3 separate regions of the Homo sapiens genome follow, and all the other regions are linked to region 1. The links are contacts of gene promoters, found by promoter capture Hi-C in blood cells and fetal thymus (Javierre and others, 2016). All regions are on one chromosome and are shown on one strand. The core of a region is centred on a gene start or on the middle of the fragment in contact, and the rest is flanking DNA. Distances in the headings are between cores, read along the strand shown. Region 1 holds the start of GJD4 (gap junction protein delta 4). Region 2 overlaps LOC107984220 (a long non-coding RNA gene). Region 3 overlaps CCNY-AS1 (CCNY antisense RNA 1).

Region 1 (4,063 bases), core at 996-3,495:
GAGCTTTCCTGGAAGAGAGGAAGCGGGCATGGCCTCATCACCCCGAATACACTGCCCTGAGTAACAGCTTTAAAGTGTCTATTGGGGCTGAGATTGGGAAATTGAAACGTCAATAAGCATGTCTTTAGTTTTCTGTTTGTTTGTGTTGTCGTTGTTGTTGTTGTTGGACACAGGGTCGTGCTATATTGCCCAGGCTGGTCTTGAACTCCTGGCCTCAAGTGCTCCTGCCGCCTTGGCCTCTTGAGTAGCTGGGATTACAGGCATGAGCCACCACACCTGTCAGCTTGTCTTTACTCACAGCATCAGGTAGTTCATTTGACAAATATTTACTGAGCACTGAACATCCTTGTTTGTAAGATGCTTCAAGATGAGTAGATTTTTAAAAAGCATTATATTAAAAGTGTTTTAATCTGTCTGCTAATTCAGACTTTTGGTAATGTCTCCTGGACTGATAGGTCCAGAAAGAAAGTTTGGCTGAGCAAATTAATGATTTAAATAAGATTTAAATTTTCTTCTTAGGAGAATAAGCCTTTTAAAAGAGGTTGGTGTATTTCTGTAACTGCCAATTCGAGCTGCTGATTTCAGTAAATCTTACTTATGACAACAGTCCAGGGATCTCTATTTAATCACAGGGCTTGTATTTAATGTTAGTCTACGGCCCTTGAAATTGAATTTCTTTATGAACATTCCATTTTTCAGATTTTTTAATCATTCAGAATTCCTCTTCCCCTTTTCCAGTTATTAGGAATGAATGGGGCTTGTCTTTCTTCAATGTATCGTGAAGGAATGACACCAAGCTAGAAAACCAAAATAACTGTCAAGCCCTATTTTCATGGCACCGGCCAACTGTTTCGAAACATGTTTAAAACTCAGCCAAAATAACTTGTGAATATTGTGTTTTGTGATGAGAGAAACATCGCCTGACATCATAAAAACAAAACAAAAATAAATATGTAAAGACAGTCAAACAAAGAATAATATCATTATGTGATGAGTCATTGAGTTGAACTTTTAACATCAAGTTGGTTTTGTCTAAATCTACAAAATAATGAGCCAGAAAAGTATCAACTGCATCTCCGGCATATATTCATCCTTTTCTGACCCCCATACCTCTCTGAAAATGTGAGTCGTCTGCATTAAACAAAAATCTATTATTTTCTTTGTTAAAAAAAATAACTAAACTTGGGATTTGGTTTAAAGTGCACAAGAGAAATGGCTACTCCTTAAAAATTAAGCTTCCAGGCCAGGCGTGGTAACTCACGCCTGTAATCCCAGCACTTTGGGAAGCCAAGGCGGGTGGCTCACGAGGTCAGGAGATCGAGACCATCCTGGCTAACACGGTGAAACCCCGTCTCTACTAAAAACACAGAAAATTAGCTGGGCGTGGTGGCAGGCGCCTGTAGTCCCAGCTACTCGGGAGGCTGAGGCAGGAGAATCACTTGAACCCGGGAGGCAGAGGTTGCAGTGAGCTGAGATTGCATCACTGCACTCCAGCCTGGGCAACAGAGTGAGACTCTGTCTCCAAAAACAAAAAAAAAAAACCAAGCTTCCAGAATAAAACCTAAAGGTATCACCTTCTGATTAACATTTGTTGTTCTGTTCCTTTTCCTGGTAACGTAGCCACACCAGGGTTGCACACAAACACCCCTCCACCTGCTTTGGTCTTTGGAGTCAGCACCCCAGTGTCAGCACAGGATGATCTGTGAGAGAACAATGTCAAACGCAAGACTCCCTTACATGACGGAGGAACCGCGGAACCATTCAAAGAAACTAGAAGCCTCAGCTCTCTTCCCTCCAGAAAGGCACAGCCCTTTCTTTTGGGAGTGGGTGGACTTTCAGCTTGGTGCTTGCACACTGAAAATGAGTAAATACCTGGACCCTTTAAGGACTCAATTCCACCATGGCAGTGGAAATAAAAACAGCGCAGGAGTTTGGAGATGGTCCCAATACTCACCCACCATGGTCACGTTGCAGTTTAATGTGATGATGAGAAACCCTAGCAAGTCCACGCCTTCCATGCTTCCAGAATGTCCCAGGCTCCAGGCTGCAGGAGACACTGGAGGGCTGTGTTCTCCAAGGAGGCGGATAAATGTCCTTTAACTACATAAGACTTAAAGGTGTGAGCTGGAGATAAGAAAGCAAAGGTCTGAGCCAGGAGTAGGAGGTGGGTTTTTCTGTCTCCAAGTTGAGACGGCCCTAAGCCGTTTGCCTCTGAGGCGAAACATTCCTGACAACTGCAGTGACCAGCAGAGCAAGCAGCAGTCATCTCTTATTGTGGGCTATTCTTACTCGCCTGGGATATTCCCGGCCTGTGGCAGCGCTCATATGTCCCCACCAGGACAGCCAGATGCTTCAGGATATAATAGCAGCAACTACTTTTAACCCAAGAAAGAAAACTTCTGCTAACTAGCCAAGTAAATTTCTCTATTAAAAAGGCATTTCCTCCTTGAAAACATTTCCACAACCACTTCACTTGTGCAAGAAGCCCTTAAAGTGTTCACGTTTTGTCTTCTCAATCAAGCATGAATCGCCATGCCACCATCACACGAACCCACAAGGATCTCGCCCTTATTCTGAATTCCTGTGTCATTGGTGCAGGCAGAAATCTGAAACTCAGTTGGGTGTCCCAACTTTAGACCGTGACTTGGTTATTCTCCTGCTGCTTCCTGTGCAGTGAGTGACAACTCTTCGCTTGGAGACAAAAGCCTGGGTGCAAAGCCCGGGGCAGCCCCCTACTCACTGGGGAAGTCATTGGATCCTTCCAGATAGCCTCATCTTGCAATAAGGAGAATCATGCCATTCCACTTGCCATTTGTGGGAGGCTTATGTGAAATGATGGTGTAGAATAAGAGCAACTGGTGTGAAGTGGGTGTACGACAACCCATATCCGTGGGATTTCAATCCCTAATTGGCCTCTACGACCTTCACAGATTACATCTTCCCTTTGTATCTCCCAGCCCCATCTAGCCTGGAGCTGTTCCCATTGAATCTACTTAATAAATGTCTGTTAAATCTGTCATGAAATATCACGGTCTGGACCTGCTGACATCAATCACAGTTGCGTCAAAATCCTATCGCTGCAGCCACCTTCATATCTGGGAAGAACCCATCCTGCAGGGTTGGGGATCTATGATCAGGGTGGAAATTGTAAACTTTAAAAGGAATGATTTCAATTTTCCATGAAAGCTATTCTTTATATCCCCATCTTTTCTTCATTTCTGATCTATTCTTGACTTTAGTAATATCCCTAGAAAGATTCCCAGAAGAGTGCAACAAAGCTACTTTCATCTTTGCTCACATGACATGCTCCCATCCACGGAAAACGTTTTGACCCCCTTGAAAGGAACAGTGGTTTTGCTATATTTTAGTCAAATGCTTCGACATGAGCAAGGAAATTTGAGAAATTGTAGTTAAGTAAAAATATTGAAATAGTCACAGGGTGTAAGTATAAAATAAAGGAGAATTTGTCTCCTAATAGACTGCTCATGGTATTGGCTTTAAAAAAAAAATGAAATATCAGGAAAGCAATTACTGACTCTTGCTGTGTGATAGAAATAGCCCATCCCAAATGTGGAATAAATTAGCCCTGCGCGACCATGAGCAAATCACTGCAGCTTTTCATGCTTCGGTTTTCTCATCAGTGAAGCAGAAAAAAAGAATGTGTTCTTCACCCACTCACAGTGACTGTGATATGCAAATGTGACCAGAGATGTGAAAATGATTTTGAAATGTAAAGAATGACCCAGTGTCAGTGACAGGCGCTTCTCAGGGTTGGCTCCTCTGGTCCCACCCTTCAGGGCATCTTCTGAGCAGCCCATGCCCACCCATCTCCCTTCTCATCCTGGTCACCTTTGCTCTTCCTCCTTGAAGTCTACCCCATCCCCATTCCTTGTCTTTTTTCTCTTTCTCTTTTTTTCCTCTCTCCTGCTAGGTGACATTTTGCTTTACTTGGAAATCTAACTCTGGTCAGGCGCGGTGGCTCACGCCTGTAAATCCCAGCACTTTGGGAGGCTGAGGTGGGTGGATCACCTGAGGTCAGGAGTTCAAGACTAGCCTGGCCAAC
Region 2 (4,063 bases), core at 591-3,090, 300 kb after region 1:
AAGTCTTACAAGGGGTCAGACTGGCAGCACCATCCACAGGGACATTACCTCTAAGGATCATATATCAAGAGCCAGATCCCAATCAGGAAATTTCTTCCACCATTGTCAGTACAAAGGGCACTCAGCAAGCATCTTTTCCAAATGGACATCTACCCAGAAGTATCCACATAACCCAATCATCAATACTCAGAAACAAGAAGATATTAGAACTGTTCTTTCTTGCAGGGGTAAAAATAAGGAGGATTAGGAAGATGAAGCCATGGCAATGAACGATAAGTAGCACAAACCTTACCTAATCTCTGTCTCATTTAACTGGGTAAACAGCAGCTCTGACACAATTATATGCCCCCAGATGCTGCTGTGACATTACTAGGTTACAGTGAACACAGTATCAGCTGATGCCATTGGAATAAACATGCAGATTTCCAAAACCAAAGTGTTTGCATGTAATATATATTTCATGTTCTTGTCACCTCAAGCCTGTCTTGAAGCTGATTTCATGCAGCATCCTCTAGACTTGAAGGAACATCACTCCACATTTCAAAGAGTAACAGCATGTATTTTTACAATTTACTCCTTAGCAGGGGGGAATTAGAGCATTAACTGTAGGAAATTTTTCTCTTGTACAATAAACCGAAAGCTTTGTAACCATAAAATGACAATTTTCATTAAAAAGCACGCTTACTTTTGGTATTGCCAGTTACGTAAAGGATAAATGTCTTCGGGCAAAAGGACACGTGGCCATAACCTTTTCCTGACAAGTCTGTCTCCGGTTTTCTCCAAGCAATGTCAGATTTTATATTTTTCCAAAAGAAACAAACGGGAATGCCTCATGAATTGTTCCTGTGGATTTTTAGTTCAATACTACATGACACTTGTATATTAGGCTCCTAAATACTGTGCAACACGGCAACAGTGATGAGAATCACTACTCTTAGACCACACTTGAATTAGTGTCTCTTCCATCCACCCACGTTTTTTGGCTCTTCTTCCTCTGATCTCCCCTGCCTTGAGGCTCAGCACTCCCCCTAACACCCTAGTGGTTCTCAACCTGGGCAATTATGCCCCCAGGAGACATTTTTGGTTGTTGCAACTAGGGGATGCCACTGGCATGTAGTGGGTAGAGGCTAGGGATTCTGCTAAACATCCTACAAGGCACAGGACAGCCCCCCAAAACAAAAATGATCTAGCTCCACATGCCAATAGTACTGTGGCTGAGAAAACCTGCAATATGCTAACCAAACCACTTTTAATTAAAAGGAGAAAAAAGGCCGGGAGCGGTGGCTCACGCCTGTAATCCCAGCACTTTGGGAGGCCGAGGCGGGCGGATCACGAGGTCAAGAGATCGAGACCATCCCGGCTAAAACGGTGAAACCCCGTCTCTACTAAAAATACAAAAAAATTAGCCGGGCGTAGTGGCGGGCGCCTGTAGTCCCAGCTACTTGGGAGGCTGAGGCAGGAGAATGGCGTGAACCCGGGAGGCGGAGCTTGCAGTGAGCCGAGATCCCGCCACTGCACTCCAGCCTGGGCGACAGAGCGAGACTCCGTCTCAAAAAAAAATAAAAAATAAAAAAAAAAAAAAAATAAAAGGAGAAAAAAGCCTTTTCAAGATCTTACAACGGCTCTTATTAGATTATAAATTGTAACCTCCTCAGCCTTACTTTCAACACCTTTCCCAATCCATTTCTAACCTACCTGTCACCTGAACTGAGCAAACCTATGCTGAGCTCCCCCATGTGCAGGAGGTGCAAAGCTACTGAAAGACGAAGAGGGGTTGGTGCTTTCCAGAAGCCCATTCACGGGTGCAGGAGACGGAGAAACTGGAGCATGTGGCTAGCACCCAGCAGGTATCAGGAATGGTCTTTCCTTTCTTCCTAATTAGCTCTAATTCCAGGCTGACTGTGATGGGTGGATAAAGAGTGGTGGATCTTAGTGTTTTCCCCACATCGTAATCTGTGCTCTTGTTTGTCTTTTAATCTATTAGGAAAATTTGAAAGACTAGGTTTTTTTCTATTTGACATAGATCTACCTTTCTTTCTTTCCTTCCTTCCTTCTTTCCTTCCTTCCTTCCTTCCCTCTTTTTTTTTTTTTTTTTTTTTTTGAGACGGAGTTTCGCTGTTGTCGCCCAGGCTGGAGTGCAATGGTACGATCTCGGCTCACCGCAACCTCCGCCTCCCAGGTCCAAGGGATTCTCCTGCCTCAGCCTCCTGAGTAGCTGGGATTACAGGCATGCACCACTACATCCAGCTAATTTTGTATTTTTAGTAGAGATGGGGTTTCTCCATGTTGGTCAGGCTGGTCTCGAACTCCCGACCTCAGGTGATCTGCCCACCTCGGCCTCCCAAAGTGCTGGGATTACAGGCACGAGCCACCATGCCTGGGCTTCTTTCCTCTTTCTTTTTAAGAAACATGGTCTTTCGCCTGTAATCCTAGCACTCTGGGAGGCTGAGGCGGGAGGATCACCTGAGGTCGAGAGTTCAAGACCAACCTGATCAACATGGAGAAACCCCGTCTCTACTGAAAATACAAAATTAGCCAGGCGTCATGGTGCATGCCTGTAATCCCAGCTACTCGGGAGGCTGAGGCAGGAGAATTGCTTGAACCCAGGAGGTGGAGGTTGCGGTGAGCCGAGGTCATGCCATTGCACTCCAGCCTGGGCAACAAGAGTGAAACTCAGTCTCAAAAAAAAAGAAACAGGATCTTACTCTGTCACCCATGCTGGAGTGCAGTGGTGCAGTCATGGCTCACTGCAGCCTGGAATCCCTGGGCTCAAGTGATCTTCCTGCCTCAGCCTCCCAAATAGCTGAGACTACACATCCCAGGTAATTATTTTTATTTTTATTTTTGTAGAGACAGGGTCTCACTATGTTTCCCAAGCTGGTCTGGAATTCCTGACCTCAAGCAATCTTCCTGCCTCGGCTTCTCAAAGTGCTGGGATTACAGGCATGAGCCACCGTGCCCAGCCTCCTTACCTTTATAATTTCTAATAAATATTGTTTTGGTTATACTGAATAAGCATGCCATACTAACAAGAAGCTTTTAGGCTAGCATGTCTCAAAATGTTTTAGCAATTTTCTACTCAGCCTTATGTGTTCATGATCTCTCTGCTCTTGCTACTAATTGAGAAATTAATATTGTTCTCAGTGGCTATGATGTAGATTGAATTGTTCAGCCACAGATTTTTCATCCTGAGATGCCCTTGGGTGCCTGCTAGTTGTTTTTCTTAGGTTGGCTGTTTTGTTCTTCATCTTAAAATATTAACATGTCGGGGCGGGCGCAGTGGCTCATGCCTATAATCCCAGCACTTTGGGAGGCTGAGGCAAGTGGATCGCCTGAGGTCAGGAGTTCGAGACCAGCCTGGCCAACATGGAGAAACCCCGTCTCTACCAAAAATACAAAAATTAGCCAGGCATGGTGGTGCATGCCTGCAGTGCCAGCTCCTCAGGAGGCTGAGACAGGAGAATCACTTGAACCCAGGAGACGGAGGTTGCAGTGAGCCGAGATCGCGCCACTGCACTCCAGCCTGGGTGACAGAGCAAGACTCTGTCTCAAAAAAAAAAAAAAAAAATTAAGATGTCAAAGTATTAACCTGCTGTTTTGATAGAAAAATAGCAATGAGGATGGGCGTGGTGGCTTACACCTGTAATCCCAGCACTCTGGGAGGCCGAGGCAGGTGGGTCATGAGGTCAGGAGATCGAGACCATCCTGGCCAACATGGCAAAACCCCATCTCTACTAAAAACACAAAAATTAGCCAGGCGTGGTGGCGTGTGCCTGTAGTCCCAGCTACTCAAGAGGCTGAGGCAGAGAATCGCTTGAACCTGGGAGGCGGAGGTTGCAGTGAGCCGAGATCACGCCATTGCACTCCAGCCTGGACGATAAGAGCAAAACTCCGCCTCAAAAAATAAATAAATAAATAAATAAATAAAATAAAAAATAACAATGAAGGCTGGGCGGGGTGACTCACACCTGTAATCCTAGCATTTTGGGAGGCCGAGGCGGGCAGATCGCTTGAGCCCAGGAGTTTGAAACCAGCCTGGGCAACATATTGAGACTATGTCTAC
Region 3 (4,063 bases), core at 688-3,187, 280 kb after region 1:
GTCTACTAAAAATACAAAAAAAATTTGCCACGCATGGTGGCACACACCTGTAATCCCGCTACTTGGGAGGCTAAGGCAGGAGAATCGCTTGAACCTGGGAGGTGGAGGTGAGACTGAGCCAAGCTCACACCACTGTACTCCAGCCTGAGCGACAGAGCGAGACTCCATCTCAAAAAAAATAAAAAATGGCCAAACTGTTTTCCAAAGTCCTGGTACCATCTTACATCCTACCGGTAAAGTTATGAGAGTTGTAGTTGCCCTACATTCTCACCAATACTTGCTATTATCAGTCTTTTTAATTTTCACCATCCTAATGGATACGTAGTGGTATCTCACTGTGGTTTTACTTTGCATTTCCCTGATGGCTAATGATGTTGACATATTTTTGTGTGCATGTTGGATACTAATATATCTTTGTAAAGTGCCTATTCAGTGTCTTTTCCAATTTAGTTGGGTTGCTAAAAAGTCTTCATATATTCCAGATACAATACCTTTGGCAGGTATGTAGATATGTGTTGTGTGACTATTTTCTCCCAGTCTGTGACTTGTCTTCATTTTGTTAGCATTGTCTTTTGAAGAGCAGAAGTCTTTAACTTTGTAAAAGTCTAATTTTTTGCTATCTTCTTTTATAGCTCTTGTCTTTTTTTGTTTTTTTGTGTGTGTGTATTCAATTATCTAAGAACTCTTTGACTCCCTTCAGATCATGTAAATGTTCTCCTGTTTTATTTTAGAAATTTTAATTTTACCTTTTTTTTTTTTTTTGAGACAGAGTCTTGCTCTGTCACCCAGGCTGGAGTGTAGTGACGTGATCTCAGCTCACCGCAGCCTCTGCCTCCCAGGTTCCAGCAATTCTGCCTCAGCTTCCCAAGTAGCTGGGACTACAGGAGGCAAGCACTGCGATGCCCAGCTAATTTTTGTATTTTTAGTAGAGACAGGGTTTCACCATGTTGGCCAGTATGGTCTTGATCTCCTGACCTGGTGATCCACCCGCTTCGTTCTCCCATAGTGCTGGGATTACAGGCGTGAGCCACCGCACCCATCCAAGTTTTACCTTTTAAGCTTAGGTACATGATCCAATTTGAGGTGAATTTTGTGTATGAGTAAGTTAATAATCAATGTTCATTTTTTCCCATATGGATATCCAGTTTTTCCGGTACCATTTGTTGAAAAGACTGTCTTTCCCCTATTGACTTACTGTGGCCACTTTGTCAAAAATTACTTGCCCATAGACATGCGGGTTCATTTATTTTGTTCCATTGATCCAAATGTTGATCCTTTAATAATAATGTAGCTTTATAGTCAGTCTTGAAATTTGATAGTTTGAATATTCCAACTTTGTTGTTCTTTTTCAAAAATTTTTTGCATTCTAAGTCCTTTGTGTTTTTATATAAATTTTAGAATAAGTTATGTAAGTGCCTGCTGGGATTTTCTTTTTTTTGAGACAGGGTCTTACTATGTCACCCAGACTGAAGTGCAGTGGCATGATCACAGGTCATTGCATCCTCAACCACCCAGACTCAAGCAATCCTCCTGTCTCAGCCTTCCAAGTAACTGAGACCACAGGTGCGTACCACCACACCTGGCTATTTTGCTGCTGTTTGTTTTTGTAGAGATGGGGTTTCACCACATTGCCCAGGCTGATCTTGAATTCCTGGGCTCAAGCAGTCTTCCCACCTCAGCCTCCAAAAGTGCTGGGATTATAGGTGTGAGCCATCGTGCCCCACCCCTGCTGGGATTTCAGTTAAGATTACATTGTATCTGTGGAACAATTTGGGAAAAATGGTCATCATCATATTTAGTCTTGTAGTTCATAGACATAGTATATCTCCATTTATTTGCGTCTTTAATTTTCAGCATAACATTCAGCAATGTTTTTATAGTTTTAATTGTATAGGTGCCTTGCATGTATTATGTTAAATTTATCCCTAACTAGTCCATGTTTTTGATACTATAGTAAATGGTGTTTGTGTGTGTGTGTGTGTATTTTTTTTTTTTTTTTTTAGACAAAGCCTCACTCTGTCACCCAGACTGGAGTGCAGTGGTATAATCATAGCTCACTACAGCCTTGACCTCCTGAGCTCAAGCAGTCCTCCTGTCTCAGCCTCCCAAGTAGCTGGGATGACAGTGTGCACCACCACACCCAGCTAATTTTTTTTTTTTTGGTCTTGCTGTGTTGCCCGGGCTGGACTCAAGTGATCTTCCCTTCTCAGCCTCTCAAAGTGCTGGAATTACAGGCATGAGCCACCGTGCCCAGCCAGAGGTATTGTTTTTGATACTATAGTAAATATTTTATTTAAATTTCCAGGTGGTTATTGCTAGTATGCAGAAAATATTTTTTTGCATTAACCTATGCTAAAGTCACTTACTATTTTGATTTGCCTTTCATAAAGATTCCTTAAATGTTTCTACATACACAATCATGTCATCTGCAGATAGACAGTTTTATTTCTTCTTTTCAATCTGTATGGTTTTCTTTGCCTTTTTCTTGCCTATTGTACTGGCTAGGACTTCCAGTGTAATGTTTAATAGAAATCCTGAGACTGGACATCCTTGCCTTATTTTCAATCTGAGGAGAAAGCATTCAGTTGTTCATCATTAACAGACAATGTTAGCTGAAGGTTTTTCAGAGCTTGTGTACTCTACCAGGATGAAGAAGGTCCCTTCTATTTCCAGTTTGCTAAGAGTTTTAAAATTGTGAATGGATGGCGAATTTTGTTATTTTTCTGCATCTAATAAGAGAATCATATATGGTTTTTCTCCTTTGTTCTGTTAATATGGTAGGTATGTTGATTTTTTTAGTGTTAAAACAAGCTTGCATTCTTGGGATAAACCCCACTTAGTCATGATGCATTATCCTTGTTATATATTGCTGAATTCAGTTTGCCAAAAATTTAACTAAGGATGTTTGCATCTGTATTCAGTGAGGTATACTGTATTCAGTGAGGTATTCCTTTCAATGTCATTGTCTGGGCTCAGACAATGACTAGAGAAGTCATCTTTCTTTGTTTTTAGAATGAGTTTGTGTGTGTTTGTTATTATTTTTCCTTAAATATTTGATAGAATTTACTGCTGAAGCCACCTCAGTCTGAAGTTTCTTTGCAGGAAGTTTTAATTCATAATTAAATTTCCTTAGCATATATAGGGCTTTTTTCTTTTTTCTTTTTTTGAGACAGAGTGTCACAGTGTCTCCCGGGCTGGAGTGCAATGGCGCGATCTCAGCTTACTGCAGCCTTTGCCTCCCGGGTTCAAGCAATTCTCCTGCCTCAACCTCCCAAGTAGCTGGGATCACAGGCGCCTACCACCATGCCCAGCTAATTTTTTGTATTTTCAGTAGAGACAGGGTTTCACTATGTTGGCCAGGCTGGTCCCAAACTCCTGAGATGAGGATAATTTTTTGTATTTTTAGTAGAGACGGGGTTTCACTATGTTGGCCTGGCTGGTCTCAAACTCCTGACCTCGTAATTCACCCACCTCGGCCTCCCAAAGTGCTGGGATTACAAGTGTGAGCCACCGTGCCTGGCCTTCTTTCTAGTTTCTTGAATCACTATGGTTAATCTGTGGCATTCAACCAATTTGTCCATTTTATCTATGCCATTGAATTTATTTACATAATTATAATCTTTTTTTGTTTTAATGTCTGCAAGATCTGTGGTGATATCTATTTCATTCCTAATGTTGGTAATTTTTTCTTTTCCTGCTTGCTCTTATTGTTTGTTTGTTTGTTTGTTTGTTTTGAGATAGGTTCTCATTCTGTCACCCAGACCAGGCTGGAATACAGTAGCGATCATAACTCACTCAGCCCCAAACTCCTGGTCTCAGGCAGTCCTCCTGCCTCAGCGTTTCAAATTGTTGGGATTACAGGCATGAGCCACTGTGTTCAGCCTCTTTTAATTCCTATATGTATTAGCCAGTTGAGGTGGCTTGCTTGAACCCAAGAGTTCTGGGCAACACAGCAAGACCTCATCTCTACAAATAATTTTAAAAATTAGCTGGGGCATGGTGGCGCACACCTCTGGTCTCAGCTACTTGAGAGGCTGAGACAGGTGGATCACTTGAGCCCAGG

The links. The method cuts DNA at HindIII sites, captures the fragments that hold promoters and counts their contacts. A CHiCAGO score of 5 or more calls a contact.
Region 2: a contact is called between a fragment that was not itself captured here and the fragment with the promoter of GJD4 in region 1, in 1 of 17 cell types (neutrophils). The highest score is 7.3, in neutrophils.
Region 3: a fragment that was not itself captured here is called in contact with the fragment with the promoter of GJD4 in region 1 in 1 of 17 cell types (neutrophils); the score reaches 7.1 in neutrophils.

What each region holds. Positions count from the first base shown.
Region 1 is chr10:35,603,523-35,607,585 of GRCh38, reverse strand. GJD4 (gap junction protein delta 4) reads right to left here and starts at 2,245. Exons shown (of 2, transcript NM_153368.3): 1 at 1,955-2,245; 2 at 1-8. The coding sequence starts at 2,018. GJD4-AS1 (GJD4 antisense RNA 1) reads left to right here. Exons shown (of 2, transcript NR_199600.1): 1 at 1-60; 2 at 1,621-3,024. The HindIII fragment of the contact is 9,701 bases long and covers 1,549-4,063 here.
Region 2 is chr10:35,301,816-35,305,878 of GRCh38, reverse strand. All of the region lies in intron 1 of LOC107984220 (a long non-coding RNA gene), which reads left to right. It also overlaps a transcript of CCNY not described here. Among named protein-coding and RNA genes, the nearest start is that of CCNY-AS1, 33 kb to the left of the region's middle. RefSeq lists a silencer at 1,003-1,062. The HindIII fragment of the contact is 2,396 bases long and covers 643-3,038 here.
Region 3 is chr10:35,319,053-35,323,115 of GRCh38, reverse strand. CCNY-AS1 (CCNY antisense RNA 1) reads left to right here. Exons shown (of 4, transcript NR_186477.1): 3 at 1,446-1,563. It also overlaps a transcript of CCNY not described here. Among named protein-coding and RNA genes, the nearest start is that of CCNY-AS1, 15 kb to the left of the region's middle. The HindIII fragment of the contact is 1,752 bases long and covers 1,062-2,813 here.